Regions from separate parts of the Homo sapiens genome. Here region 2 is linked to region 1. Evidence: promoter capture Hi-C in 16 types of primary human blood cells and fetal thymus (Javierre and others, 2016). All regions are on one chromosome and are shown on one strand. Each heading gives the region's core, a stretch centred on a gene start or on the middle of the fragment in contact. The rest is flanking DNA. Distances are from core to core; before and after follow the strand shown.

What was found. Contacts are between HindIII fragments. The CHiCAGO score rates a contact against its expected background, and 5 or more counts as called.
Region 2: a contact is called between a fragment that was not itself captured here and the fragment with the promoter of AGTR1 in region 1, in 1 of 17 cell types (megakaryocytes). The highest score is 6.1, in megakaryocytes.

Annotation. Positions count from the first base shown.
Region 1 is chr3:148,693,744-148,700,849 of GRCh38, forward strand. It overlaps AGTR1 (angiotensin II receptor type 1), which reads left to right and starts at 4,160. Exons shown (of 3, transcript NM_000685.5): 1 at 4,160-4,384. It also overlaps the pseudogene RPL38P1. The HindIII fragment of the contact is 4,344 bases long and covers 1,610-5,953 here.
Region 2 is chr3:148,463,182-148,470,287 of GRCh38, forward strand. LOC105374150 (a long non-coding RNA gene) reads right to left here and starts at 2,610. Exons shown (of 7, transcript XR_924571.2): 1 at 1,723-2,610; 2 at 1,199-1,258. The HindIII fragment of the contact is 1,463 bases long and covers 3,001-4,463 here.

The DNA.
Region 1 (7,106 bases), core at 2,910-5,409:
TGTCTTCTTTACATCACTTTCCTTTTTCTGCCCATAAATCTTTTTCAACCACGAGGCAGTGCTGGAGTCTCTCTGAACCTATTGCAGTTCAGTGGCTGCCCGATTTGCACATCACTCTTTGCTCAATTAAGCACTGTTAAATTTAATTTGACTAGGTTTGTCTTTTAACAAAGATGTACAGTTCAATGTTTTTTGTATGTTTTCAAACATACAAAAGTTGTGTAATGATCACCATAATCAAATGTACAATTTTTTATCATCGTCCAATTAGCAGACACTACCATTCCCTCCTACCCCTCCACTCTCAGCCTAGGCAATCAAAATTCTCTACAGTTATGTCACTCCTGAATATTTCATATAAATGAAATCATATAATATGTCTTCTTCTGTGACTGGCTTCTTTCAATTAGCACAAGGTTTTCAAGGCACTTCCATGTGTAACATGTACTTTATTCCCTTTTATTGCCAAACAATATCCTATGGTATGGAGATATCACATTTTATCTATTCATCAGTTGATAGATATTTGACTTATTTCTGCTTTGGGGCTATTATGAATAATGCTGCTATGAATTTTCACGTCTACATTTTTGTGTGGACATATGTTTTCATTTCTAATGAGTATATACCTAGGAATGGAATTGCTGAGCCATATGGTAACTCTATCTATGCTTAGCATTTTGAAGAATTGCCACTGTTTTCCAAAATGGCTGCACTATTTTATATTCCCACCAACAATATATGAGGGATCCAATTTCTCCACATTCTGGACAACACTTGTTACTATCTGACTTTTTGATTATAGCTATCCTAGTAGGCCTAAAATCATAACTAATTGTTCCTTTGAGTTGCATTTTCCTGCTGGCTAATAATGTTGAGTTTTTTTATGTGTTTGTCTACCTTCTTTAGAGAAATGTATATTAAGATCCTTTGACCATTTTTAATGGTGTTTTTATTATCTTTGTGTGTGCTTTATTATCTTTATATGTTCTATACACAAGTCCTTATCAGGTATATAATTTGCAAATATCTTTGCACATTCTTGGCTTTTTCTTTTCACTTTCTTGATACCCTTGGAAGTATAGATGCTGTTAATATTGATGAAATCAAATTAATTTACCTACTTTTTCTTGTATTTCTTATGCTTTTGGAGTTGTATCTAAGATGGCTTTGCATAACCCAAGGTAACAAAGGTTTACTCCTACGTTTTCTATTTAGTTTTATAATTTTTCTCTTAAGCTTGGGTCTATGATCCATTTTGACTTAATTTTTACATGTGGTATTATAAGGAGTCCAACTTCATTCTTCTGCATGCAGATATCCAATTATTCCAGTACCATTTGTAATAAAGATTACTCATTCTGCATTTTTTCAACCCTTTTCAAAATCTAGTGGCTCATAAATGTAAGGGTTTAGTTTGTGGACACAATTCTGTTCCATTGATCTTTCTATCTATTGCTATGCCAGTACCACATTGTCTTGTTTATTGTAATTTTGCAGTAAATTTTGAAATTGGTAAGTTTGTTCTTTTTCAGAATTGTCTTGACTATTCTGGGCCCCTCGCACTGCTACATGTTTTTAGGATAACTCCATTCATTTCTGCAATAAAAGCTTGCTGGGTTTTGATAGAGATTTTGTTTAACCTGTAGATCATTTGAAGATTAATGCCATTGTAACGATATTAAATCTTTCAATCCAAGAACATGGAATGTCATTCCATTTATTTAGGTCTACCTTATTTCAACAATTCTTTTTGTTTGTTTTCAGACTACAAGTTTTAGATCCTTTTGTTAAATTTATTTCTTAGGGTTTTTTTTGTTTTGTTTTGTTTTGTTGGTTGGTTGGTTTGTTTTGAGATGGAGTCTCACTCTGTCACCCAGGCTGGAGTGCAGTGGCACAATCTCAGCTCACAGCAACCTCTACCTCCTGGGTTCAAGCGATTCTTCTGCCTCAGCCTCCTCCTCCTGAGTAGCTGGAACTACAGGCATGCACCACCACGCCTGGCTTTTTTTTTTTTTTTTTCTTTTGCATTTTTAGTAGAGACAGGGTTTCACGATGTTGGCCAGCCTGGTCTCGAATCCCTGACCTTGTGATTCACCCACCTCGGCCTCCCAAAGTGCTGAGATTACAGGAGTGAGCCACTACACCAGGTCATTTCTTAGTATTTTTACTCTTTTGATCTATAGTAAGTAAAATTGTTTTTATCTTTGAATTTTTAAATTTTTAACACAGTTCAAATCAGTGTGTCTGATTTCATCTCCTTCTCTAACAAACCAGGGTGCCAGAACTGCTTCAGTTTCTCTGCCTTCTCTTTGTCTATGATGACTAATGTATGAAGGTATCTGCTGCATCAAACTTTAAACTTCACATTATCCTTATTTCTCTTGACCTTGACAGATCTGGCATCTTTTCACCTGGCTGTAAGCAGAAAGTCCTTGATCTCCTTAACTTTTTGAGGCATGGCAGCATGTGAGGCAGGGAGAGGACACAGACCCACACAGCAAGTGGTGAGAAGCCAACAGTGGAATTGTTTTCTTAATTCCATTTGTTGATTGTTTATTGCTAGTGTATAGAAATACAACTGATTTTTGTATATTGATCTTGTATTCTAAAAACTTGCTCAACTTGTTTCTTAGTTCTAATAGTTAATTAATTGATTCCTTAGGGCTTTTTAATACAAGATCATGTCATCTACAAATAGAAATTGTTTTACTTTCTTTCTAATCTGGATGCCATTTATCTTTTTTTCTTGTCCAATTGCCCTCACTAGAACCTTTAGTACAAAGTTAAATAGAAATGGGAAGACTAGACATTTTGTCTTGTTCCTGATCTTAGACATAAAAACGTTGTCTTCCGTTATTATGTGTGATATTAGTTAAGTTTTTCATAAATAAACTTCACAGTTTGAGGAAGTTCCTATTCCTAGTTTGTTGAGTGTTAGCATGAAAAAGTGTTGAATTTTGTCCAATAGTTTTTAAAAATTTTTTTAGACAATCATGTAGGCTTTGTCCATTTTTTACTTCTTTAAATTTATTTTTATTGATACACAATAGATGTACACTTTTTAGGTACATGCAATAATTTAATGCCCCTCACTATAAATTCGGAGCTGCCTCCTCGCCGATGATTCCAGCGCCTGACAGCCAGGACCCCAGGCAGCAGCGAGTGACAGGACTTTTTAGGTACATGCAATAATTTAATGCATTCATATAAAGATCAAATCAGTGCAATTGGCATATCCATCACCTTAAATATTTGTCTTTTCTTCATGCTAGAAACATTCAAGTTATTTTCTCCTAGCTACTCTGAAATATACAATAGATTACTGTAAACTACAGTCACCCTACTCACCTATCTAACATTAATTGATTTTTGGTAAACTAATCTAATCTTGCTTTCTGGCATCAACCTCACTTGACCATGGTGTATAGTCCCTTTCATATGTTATTGGATTCAATTTGCCTACATTTTGTTGAGAATTTTTATCTATACTCTTAAGAAATATTGATCTGTAGTCTCGTGATGTCTTTATCTGGTTTTGTTATCAGGGTGATACTGGCCTCATAGCATGAGTTGGGAGATCATCCTTACTCTTCTATTTTTTGGAAGAGTTTGTGAAGAATTGATATTATTTCTTCTTTAAATATTTATTGGGTTTTTAAAATACATTTTTAAAATGCAACTTGGGTAGCATGTCCAATAGGAACAAATGAGTGTCCACCCTTGAATTTCATAACCCTGGAATTAATCCATGTAATCTATGATCCACAACTGTATTACCAAAGTTCGAGTTACTCATAGGAAAGAGAAAGAAGTTCTCTAATTCGTCCTTAAAAGTTTTCCAAGTTCAGAAAAAAAAAATGTTGAAGAACACGAATCTCCGCAGGAAATGATACTCCTGTACCCCCAGCTCGCTCTCCCTCACGACCCCTCGCTAGGCGGGGTTCGGGACCAGGTGAACGCTGATCTGATAGTTGACACGGGACGACTGTGGCATCATCCTTGCTGCCGTCAATATCCCGAGAGGGAGGAGGTTGGGCCGGGAGGGTCTCCCGGGGCGGGGCGGAGGAGGAGGGAATGCAAAACAGAGCCTCGTCCCCGGAACCCAAGAAGCAGCAACGCCCCTCACTATAAATTCGGAGCTGCCTCCTCGCCAATGATTCCAGCGCCTGACAGCCAGGACCCCAGGCAGCAGCGAGTGACAGGACGTCTGGACCGGCGCGCCGCTAGCAGCTCTGCCGGGCCGCGGCGGTGATCGATGGGGAGCGGCTGGAGCGGACCCAGCGAGTGAGGGCGCACAGCCGGGACGCCGAGGCGGCGGGCGGGAGACCCGCACCAGCGCAGCCGGCCCTCGGCGGGACGTGACGCAGCGCCCGGGGCGCGGGTGAGTCCGCGCGGACCGCCAGGCATGCTTGGGGGACTTCAAGGGCGGGGTGCTAAGTTTCATGTCACGGTGTCCTAACTGCTGGCTCTATACTGGGAAGCTCTCGGGGACCAAGGAAAGAGCGACCGTAGTTCTGGTCAGCGCCTGCCCCTGGAGCTGGCCACACTTTCCCAAATCAGGTGAGGGGCTTCTGGAATGGGAGGGAACAAGGTAGGTTTGTTTGCCACGTGCCTCGAAATTCTCAATCCATTTTAACCAAACTCTTCCGAGTGCAAGGAAGAAATCTACAGAAATAAGATGCAATTCAATAAACTTTCTTCCTGAGGCTTTTAGTTAACTCTTGTATTTTAGCCATCATCTGAGCGGGAAGCCGGTATGACTCTGCAAGGCGTTCGTTTAAAAGTTGTGCTACTTTTGAGGTGAAGTTAAGAGTGTCTCCATCCACGCCCTCTGCTTCCCAGTCAATGTCCCTGCACTGCTCACGTCCCTTTAGCTCTCTCCCTGCAAACCATAGCGGTGGGTCCTAGACACGGGACATCGCTCCAACCTTGGCCAAACTCTCCCACCCTCAGGGTTCCCAGATGTCCTTTGAATAATCAAACTGAGGAAGGAGAAGCAAGATGTCTCCACACCCCAATCCCTACAGCCTTAGCCAATGCATGTGTGTAACTGAGACAGAATTTTAGCAAAAGGTCTCCTGCTTCCAGGACTAAACAGAGCCTCTGGCAGGCCACTGCCCGACACCCAACTCCATCCTCCAATTTTCTTAAATGTCCAGGTAAACATCTCCATAGTGCCAGCCTGCTATAGTCTCCCGAAGACCTCAGCAATTCTTCCCCAAAGCGTCTCCTTCTGCACCGTTTTTTTCTTTGGGCAACCATTTGTGACCTGGCTATTGAGCCCACCTGGGCCTCTTCTCTTTGTTTGCTGATAGCCTCGTTAAGTATTAAAAACCTACTCCCCCCCTTCAGGAGCCCTCTTTTAATGAAAGTTTGGGTACTGGGATCAGATTTGGGACTTGGCTACATTTATTTCCTGTGTCATTCTGAGAAGAGAAAGTAATAGAGGCAAGAAATTTGGCACCCTATTGATCTATTTTATTACTTTGTTGAGCAACTTGTGCTTCCCGCTGAAGATGCTGCATCCCAACATGATTCTCTTATTATTAGTTACCACCTGAGGGTTTTGGATCTCCAGGTGTTTATTTCACATAGCATATGCTTTAACCCCCTTATAAGTCTTCTCTAAGGAAGAAACTGCCATACTTCCCTTGTCTTCTCCGGTGTTTCCCTAGCTATAAAGGCCCCACCTGCATAACCTGTCCTCAGGCTGTGATGTATTCCCGGGTGCCCTGGTACCTTCTCCTTCCTCTCCACCACCCTTCCTGACAGTGCAGGGGCAGGAAAGCATGGGGAGAAGGGAAATGGAGACTCCCACTTAACTTGCTGTGTGATAGTAAGAGCATTATTTCACAACTCTGAACCTCAAGTCTCTGCCCATAAGGTTCCCTCCAGTGATATAATTCCTTAATTTCTTTTGTTTTGGTTATTGCTTTAAAATAAAAGTCTAAGCTTAAGGCTAGGTTATAGAAACTGCCCATCATAATTGCTAGGTCTCAACATTTGCTTAAGTTTTGTGATTCTTAGTTTCAAGTCTGTTACCCACTCTCTCTCCCCGCCACCTTTTTTCCCCCTGACTTCATTGTTCTTTGTTCCCATCCTGAGGCCTTGATTTCTGGTTCTGCTCTTCTTTGACCTTAAACTGAATCAACTCTTCCATCATCCAACTCAGAATAAAATTGGTTTTCTTCCACCGGTTCCACTGATGCCAATGGAAGACTTGTCTTCCTTGCGATTTGCAAAATGTCTTTCAGTCACAGGTGCTGCGGCAATGCTGCTGTCCCACAGCATTCTAAGCTTCAGTCTTTCTCTCTCTTATCGTGGGTCAGTATTCAGAAAAGGGCAGATTTGTGGGTTGTTCAGGTTTCTCACTTTTCTTTTTCTTCTTTCTAGTTTGGGATCAGAGTTGTGTGAGTATTTGTGTATATAATTTTGTTTTGGTTTTTTGTTCCTGCTGCTACTTACGACTGCTGTTATTATTTCAATTATGACTAATTAATACTAATGACTAATTTTCCCCTATGCTAGAGGGAAAATAAGGAAGAAAAGTTTACTCTGCTACTTACCCAAAGCCCAGGTAAAATGCTTAGCTGAGAAGGAATTTAAAACTCATAGTTTAAATGCATGATGCATGTCTGCTGTCATTTTATCTGTGCTGCCACAGTGTCCTTTCAAGCAGATAACTGAGAGTTGCTGTATTTTGCTTTCGAATTTGTTACAGGGACAAAAATAGTGACCCCTCACATTTAGGTGTTTTGGCTGCTTAATGCGAGCTCCTGCCCTCTAGCCGCATGCTTATTAGTTTACCTAGCCCTTTTTCTGGTCAGTCATGACTGGAGAATGCCAAAGAGTCTCCCAAGTAGGCTACCAAATTAAGAATTGTGTTTAGAAGTTTGAAGTCAGTCCAAGTGTTGTAAAGATTAAAACGTTGTTTTGAAGATATGCTGTGTCAATAAACAAATATGGAGCCAGAGCAACACAATGTGACCAAGTGTCCAAGCCCAGCTTAGGAACACTTTTCTCCCATGTTATCTAGCAAACTGACAAATCAGCTTTCCAACACGTGATGATTGGAAAATGCTATTAGTTTCCTTCAAAATTCT
Region 2 (7,106 bases), core at 2,482-4,981, 230 kb before region 1:
TTGTATGTTCTCACTCATAAGTGGGAGCTAAGCTATGAGGGTGCAAAGGCATAAGAATGATACAATGGGCCAGGTGCGGTGGCTCACGCCTGTAATCCCAACACTTTGGGAGCCCAAGGTGGGCGGATCATGAGGTCAAGAGATCGAGACCATCCTGGCCAGCATGGTGAAACCCCATCTCTACTAAAAGTACAAAAAGTTAGCTGGGCGTGGTGGTGCGTGCCTGTAGATCCAGCTATTTGGGAGGCTAAGGCAAGAGAATTGCTTGAACTCAGGAGGCAGAGGTTGCAGTGAGCCGAGATGGCACCACTGCACACCAGCCTGGCAACAGAGTGAGACTCTGTCTCAAAAGAAAAAAAGAATGATACAATGGACTTTGGGGACTCAGGAGAAAGGGTGGGAGGCGGGTGAGGGATAAAAGACTACAAATTGGGTTTAGTGTGTACTGCTCAGGTGATGCGTGCACCAAAATCTCACAAATCACCACTAAAGAATTTGCTCATGTAACCAAATAACACCTGTTCCCCAAAAACCTAGGGAAATAAAAAAATAAACTAAAAGTTTAACTAGCTTCTTTTTCCTTTAATTAATTTTCTGGGATCCTACCCCTATTTATAAATATACAAAATGACTCACTCATTCAACAAATAGCAGTTAATAGTCAATAACTGTTGGCTGCATACTAAGAAATATACTACATATTAAAGACATACAGTTAAATAAAATATTAGTCTCTAGGTCTTAGCCTATCAGGAGACCTAGACCAAAATAAAGTGTTGCATTACAGCATGGGAAGTGCCATCATCCAGCTCTGGTCAGAGATAGAAGCTCCAACAATGAGCCTTTTCTCTCTGTCAGTCTGGGTGTACCCTGGGTGTAAATATTGGGGACGGTGGCATTTTCTGAGGAAAAGATGCATATCTTGAGTCTTGACATTTGAGTTGGAATTATTCAGACAGATAAGAACAAATAAATTTTTAAGAGTCTGGCAAGTAAGATTTGGAAACAAGCCTTCCATACCACAATCACTTGTGTTTATTCATAACTTCACTTTTTCATTCTTTCATTCATTTGGCAGATGTTTCTGAACAACATCAGAAGGAAGGCCAGGAAAAAAGATTATAAGATTATAAAATAAATAGCTGCAATGCATATGATAACTGTGATAAAAATTTGTACAATAAGAACATTCACTCACTTATTCAACTAGGACTCAGGAAATATCCAGGCACAGGAGACAAGATGACATCATCCATGCCTTCAAGGAACAGGAAAAACACAAATCGGAATAGTCACATAGTAATAATCTCATCTAACTCTGCACAAAGGGGAAACATTGAAATGTCTGTCATGCCAGGCTCTACTCCTTGGAGAAATGGTTAGCTGCAAAGATTTTGTAAAACCAGTTTGCATTCGCTAGCTAAATAAGTTAGAATGATTGAAGGTTATCATTATATTGGTGCAACAGTAATTGTGGTTTTTGCCTTAAAAAAAAAAAAAGTCAAAAACCGCAATTACTTTTGCACCAACCTAATAGCTTGAGAGCTATAGTCATACAGATAGAAATTAAGTCCAATTTCCACACTAGTTGTGTAACTGTGGGAAAGTTCATTGATCTCCTGGTTTCAGTTTTCTATATTGTCAAAAGGGGATGATAATGGTTCCTGCCTCATTTGGTTATTGTGAGCTTAAATTAACTAATTAAAGTGCTTGGCACAGTACCTGGCTCAGCAGGTTCTTGGTACATGTTGGCTATTTCTCCCCTCTTTCCTCTTCATTTTCTTCTTACCTTAATGACTCAGCTAGACAAGACTCTGACCAGAGAGAAAGCATATGCAAAAGAATAGGAGTGTGAATTAATCCATCATGGGCTTGATGAGAGCACTGCAAGTGATTAGATATCTAACCAGTCAGTCATTCTGTTAGTCTGTAAGTGTCAATATTGATGCCAGTCTGTAGATATTGAATGCCTATTTTGTTTCAAGCACAACCTCAGGTGCCCCGATGTATTCTAGGGGCTGTTGTTGAAAAATGTGCTGGATACAGAGAACCAAAGCCACGAGTAGCCAATTTTGCCTCGTTAGGAGTTTGCTGAGAAAGCTGTCATAGGAAAACTCAAGTTTGAGTCATTTAATAGAAGAGTTGAGAGCTCGCTTTTGTCTGTTCTGAGGAATGGAAGGCATCCCAGGCACCTTAGTTCAAAGGTGTGAAACAAAGCCTGTGTGCACGGATCTTAAAGAACCTTTGAATTAATATAGAAGAAAACGCTATCCTTTGGCTTAGATGTGAAGAGCAGTAAGACGTCAATATCAAGTGGTAAAGAAGACAAACTCTGGAAGTCTAAAAGTCACTTAACAGGATACCAAAATGGGATATCCTGCCTGTAGATAGCCCTTTTCTGTTACAGGAGAAAACCTGCATTAGATGGATTTTGAAACACCAAGGATCAAATTGGATCTTCTGAAAGAAAACAACGACATATAGAAATTTTAATAAGCGGTATCACACTGCTAGTATGTCATTATCTTCACCAACCCTAGGGTTCTTTCACAGGCAGGTTACATAAAGTATGCAGAAATGTTGAATCACATTTTAAATCTTATTTCTCAATATATCACCTAAGATGTCTTCATAATAAGTGTATTTAATTCTACATAAAAAATATGAAGAAAGGCCTCAATAAGCCATTATATGTATCTCTGTGAACACTACCCTTTTATGAGAATATTTTATTCTAGGCAGCAGTCACGTTCCTCAAAAACAATAAGAAAACATAAATGTAAATTCTGATTTGTATCCCATACATAAAACAATAATTCTTTATAATAATCTGTCTTAATTCATGGACCAATAAAGATTACATTCTAAAAAAGATTACTCAAACCTCACTTTAGAAGAAAGATTAAAAATAATTGAGACAAAAACTGAAAAGGCATTTAAAATGGAAAAATGGGGTGTTTTTATCAAACAGTTTTCCTTTAAGCATGTGTCTGCACTTCAAGCTTCTTCCGTCTCACCAGCAATCCTTGGCCCCTTTTTCTTTTCTGACTCTGCAAGTTGGAATTTCTGTCAGTTTGTGACTGAGTACTGATTGTCATTGTTAGGTTTAAGAGCAAGGAAGTGGGAAGGTGGCAGCCTCATTGTGGTGGTGGCTGACGTGAACTCTGGAGAAGAGGAAGGCTTGAATCACCCCCAGCTTTGAAATCACCCCACTCAACTTTTATCATTCTAACAACAGAAGTTGAAGGAAGTTTGCCATTCTCCACCCCTTTTCTTCACTGTGGTGTGGCAAATGTTAGAGGCATCTGAGACAAAATTCAGACCAGTAATAAATTAACTAGGCTCTTCCTACAAAGAAAAATAACACAATAAATAGGAAATAAATGTCTGAAAGGGTTTTCTCAAGCAGCAGAAATCAAAAAAGGCAGAATGCACAAAAGAAGAACATAAAGAAGAGAGATGCAAAGAAAACATGGGGGCACCATGGGGGGGCCTGTGAAATAGAGTCTTAAAACATATACAAAGACCAAAGAAAGAGTTAGTGATGTGAAGGACTGGGGGTCAGGGGAAGAACCAAATCAGAAAGGAAAAGTATAAAATTCAAAGACAGAAAGGGGACATTAAAAGGTACTGAGCTGTCACGTGAGGCCACAGCACCAGAAGGCCCTGTCTTTTTGCCAAGACTTTGAAAACATAAAAAGCTCCAGATATGTTGTCATTAGGCATTGAAATAAAGTTCCAAAAGCCTTTAAGATATACATGCTTTTAAATATCATGATAAATTATGCATCTATGACACAGATTGGGATGCCCTGGCCTTCAAGTAATCAATAATTCAAAAGCTATGAACATGAACCTAATCCAAATGGCAGGTTCAAAATTGGATTCTAAAAGGATTTGCACCATTGACAAGAAGGGTGTGCCCAGCAAACTATTTCCCTCTCATCATAAAGAAAAAGGAGTAGCTTAAGCATGCACTTGTATATGCAACACTGGAATATTTCAGCTGAATGTCTTGTGTAAATAGTCAGATGAATTATTCATGGATTTTTCAAAACTTTGTCTTTTTTAATTGTAAATATTCTATCAAGGCTCTAGATCCACTAGCTACATAATGACATCTCAGATGATTTCCATTTCTTGGAGCAATGACAGTATGAATGTTGAGCCAGCTCACTGAAGGGAGCAAGAGTTTTAAGCCTGGCAATATCCATATATGACCAGACATTTTTTTCCTAATATGCTAATGTGTCAATATAAAGAAAATATGATGACATCTAGTAGTTACTTTGTCATTTCTATTTTACTCAAAATATTTTCTTCCAGTCTTAAACAGAGTTAAACTATTGCCAAGTGATGTACAAGGCAATTGCTACATTTATGTGAGATGTTCTACAGACTTTAAATCTGACATTTGAAATTGCTCCTAATTGAAGAGCTGCAAGTTGTACTTTAAATAATAAAGCTTTTACTCACACAGTCAAACTCCTTTCTTGGAAAGCTAGCAAAAGGAAGATACTTTTCTTCCCCAAAATTAATGTTGCTATCTGTTGAGATAATAGCATTCAAACTTAATTGTAGGATCAGTTTATTAACTAATAGGAGTCCTATCTTTAAGGAACTTCTTTGGATACTCTCTAAAATCAAAGCATAGTCAGTATTCTTATTTCAAAATCATAGATGTAGATACTCTCTAAAGATACTCTCAGATACTCTCTAAAATCAAAGCATAGTCAGTATTCTTATTTCAAAATCATAGATGTAGACTAGCAGGGACAATAATTTGTGAATTAAACCAGTCTCTCTTCCCCTACTTTCCTAAACATAAATCTCTCAGCTTAACTGCTTAAGTGCAGGTATGATGATTTTCTTTGTATCTCAATTTCCCGCAGTTAAAATTCCATTTAACGAGGGCATTTTAGCTGCTCCATATTATACTGCTGCAATTGCATTACAGAAATTATGTACTAAGGATGCAGTGATTAAAATTGATATTTGACTTAATTACAGGGTACAGTACATGGATATTTGAATGTAACTTAATGGAAAACAAGATGCTTTATTTGTAGTGATTTTCAAAGCTTTTATCCTTGCAGAAAGCTCCCTTGTCAGTAGCTGTTGGGCCAAATCTCAAGCTGCTGACTCTCTTCAGAAGGAATAAAGAAGAATATGCATAAATATGAAGCTAATGATGTAGTTATCCTGCTAAAATACTACACAATTATAATATATTATCTTCTAAATAGTGCCTTTCTCAATCAATTGTCCTAATTCTATTATACCTCACTGAAGTAAATATTTAAATAGCCAGATGACAAATTTTCATAGTACCATACATCAAACAGCAAATATATTACATGAAATATGTCAAAATTTTGACTAATAAAGAAAGAATTAGAAGGGCTATGACTGCAAGAAGGGAAAGTATGTAGTCATAACTTATATATAATTTAGTTAATAAGTCTACCTAAAGTCAATCTATCTTCAATGAGAAAGGGACTGGGAATACAATTATGTATTTATTTATCTATTTATTTATTTATTTTTACAAAGTCACATTTCAAAGCAATGTTTTAAATTTAAAATATAATATTTTAAGATCTAGTTAAAGGTTTATATATCAGATAATCACTTCAAATATATGCCTCTAAATGATTCACTCTTTTAAACAACTAAATCATAATAACAGTTTTTGGTTTAGTTTCAACTTGTGCTCTTTCACTAAATATATACCCATCTAGTTACCCTAAGTTTTGGAGCACACAACAATAACAAATACATCTTAAGTATATTTGAACACGAATTTATATACCTATGCCCAAAGCATTTGATTTAAATTGAGACTATAACTCACAAATTTAAAAGACTAGAATTAGCTCTAACATCATGGGGAGGGAATATGAAAACAGAAACAGGAAGGGCAAATCCATTAAATAGGGGTTGCAATTCATATGAAATATACAATTTCCATAAGTCACTTATCTAGCAACTTCACTGTATGAAGACATCTGAAAAATCATCTGAAGAACCTAAACAGGTATTACAAAGTTGAGTGACACTTGTTAATGACTTACTTACTCTTATCTTGTGCAGAGCTTATTCATCTGCTCCCTTAGGCATGTATATTAGAAGAGGTAGATATGAGTAAATAGGAGAAGACCAGTGGTATGATCGTGGATTCAGCATCAAGAAAACTAATTTTACCCCATAGATACTTTACATTACTTCATAGGATTGCTGAAGATGAAGTTAACCAACATATGTAAAGCACTTGGAACAGTTGGCAGAATATATTAAACACTCAATAAGTATTATTCATAACAAGCCTAAGAGTCTCGAAGTACTGGAATTCAAAGCAAGTAGCCCTGTACATCCTGGTAATCCAAAGGGGATTAGATAGCCTCAAGAATGAAATGCTAGCCTTTACATTACTTCATGTAATCCATGTGATTTTGTAGTTTACAAAAGCTCCCTGCCATTGCAGCTTTTGTAAACTATAAAACCCTTGCAAAGGAAATATTCAGCTGTCAGATTGCCTGATCTGACTGCTGAGTATTTTTGCACTGGTGAGGTAAAGCTCAAAGCCAAAATGGGCAATGCATGCTTTTTTTCATTTGTGTTTCCCAGAAGCAGACTGTGAGTTGAGAATTCAAGTGGAAAAAGTTTATTTATTAGGGAGGTGAGCTAAGCAAATGCCAGTCAGGTTATGGAGAACTGAGATAGGAATTTGAGGGCAGCCAATGAAGAAAGTGTTGTTAAGTTAGTTTACCACTATCAGTAACTAGAGATTGATCATGTTACAGATTGAATGTAAAACAAATTCCACAGACTCAGCCCACTTGAGAGGGGATAAAGCTGAGATATTTGTGCACAAACTTCCATCACCCTTAGCTGAGGGATCCCTCAGGGGATTTGAATTATCCAGCACTTCAAGCTGCTGTACAAGGCAAGTTGTGGTGTAAGAGAAAGCCCTCACCCAGTTAAAAGTCACAGGCCATTTTACACTGCAATGATATGGGAGGAGCACAGACAACACCTGTTATAGTCAACTATTTCTTCAGATCTACCTGTGACCCAAGTCAAGTTCACTCCATCCATCCTGGCAA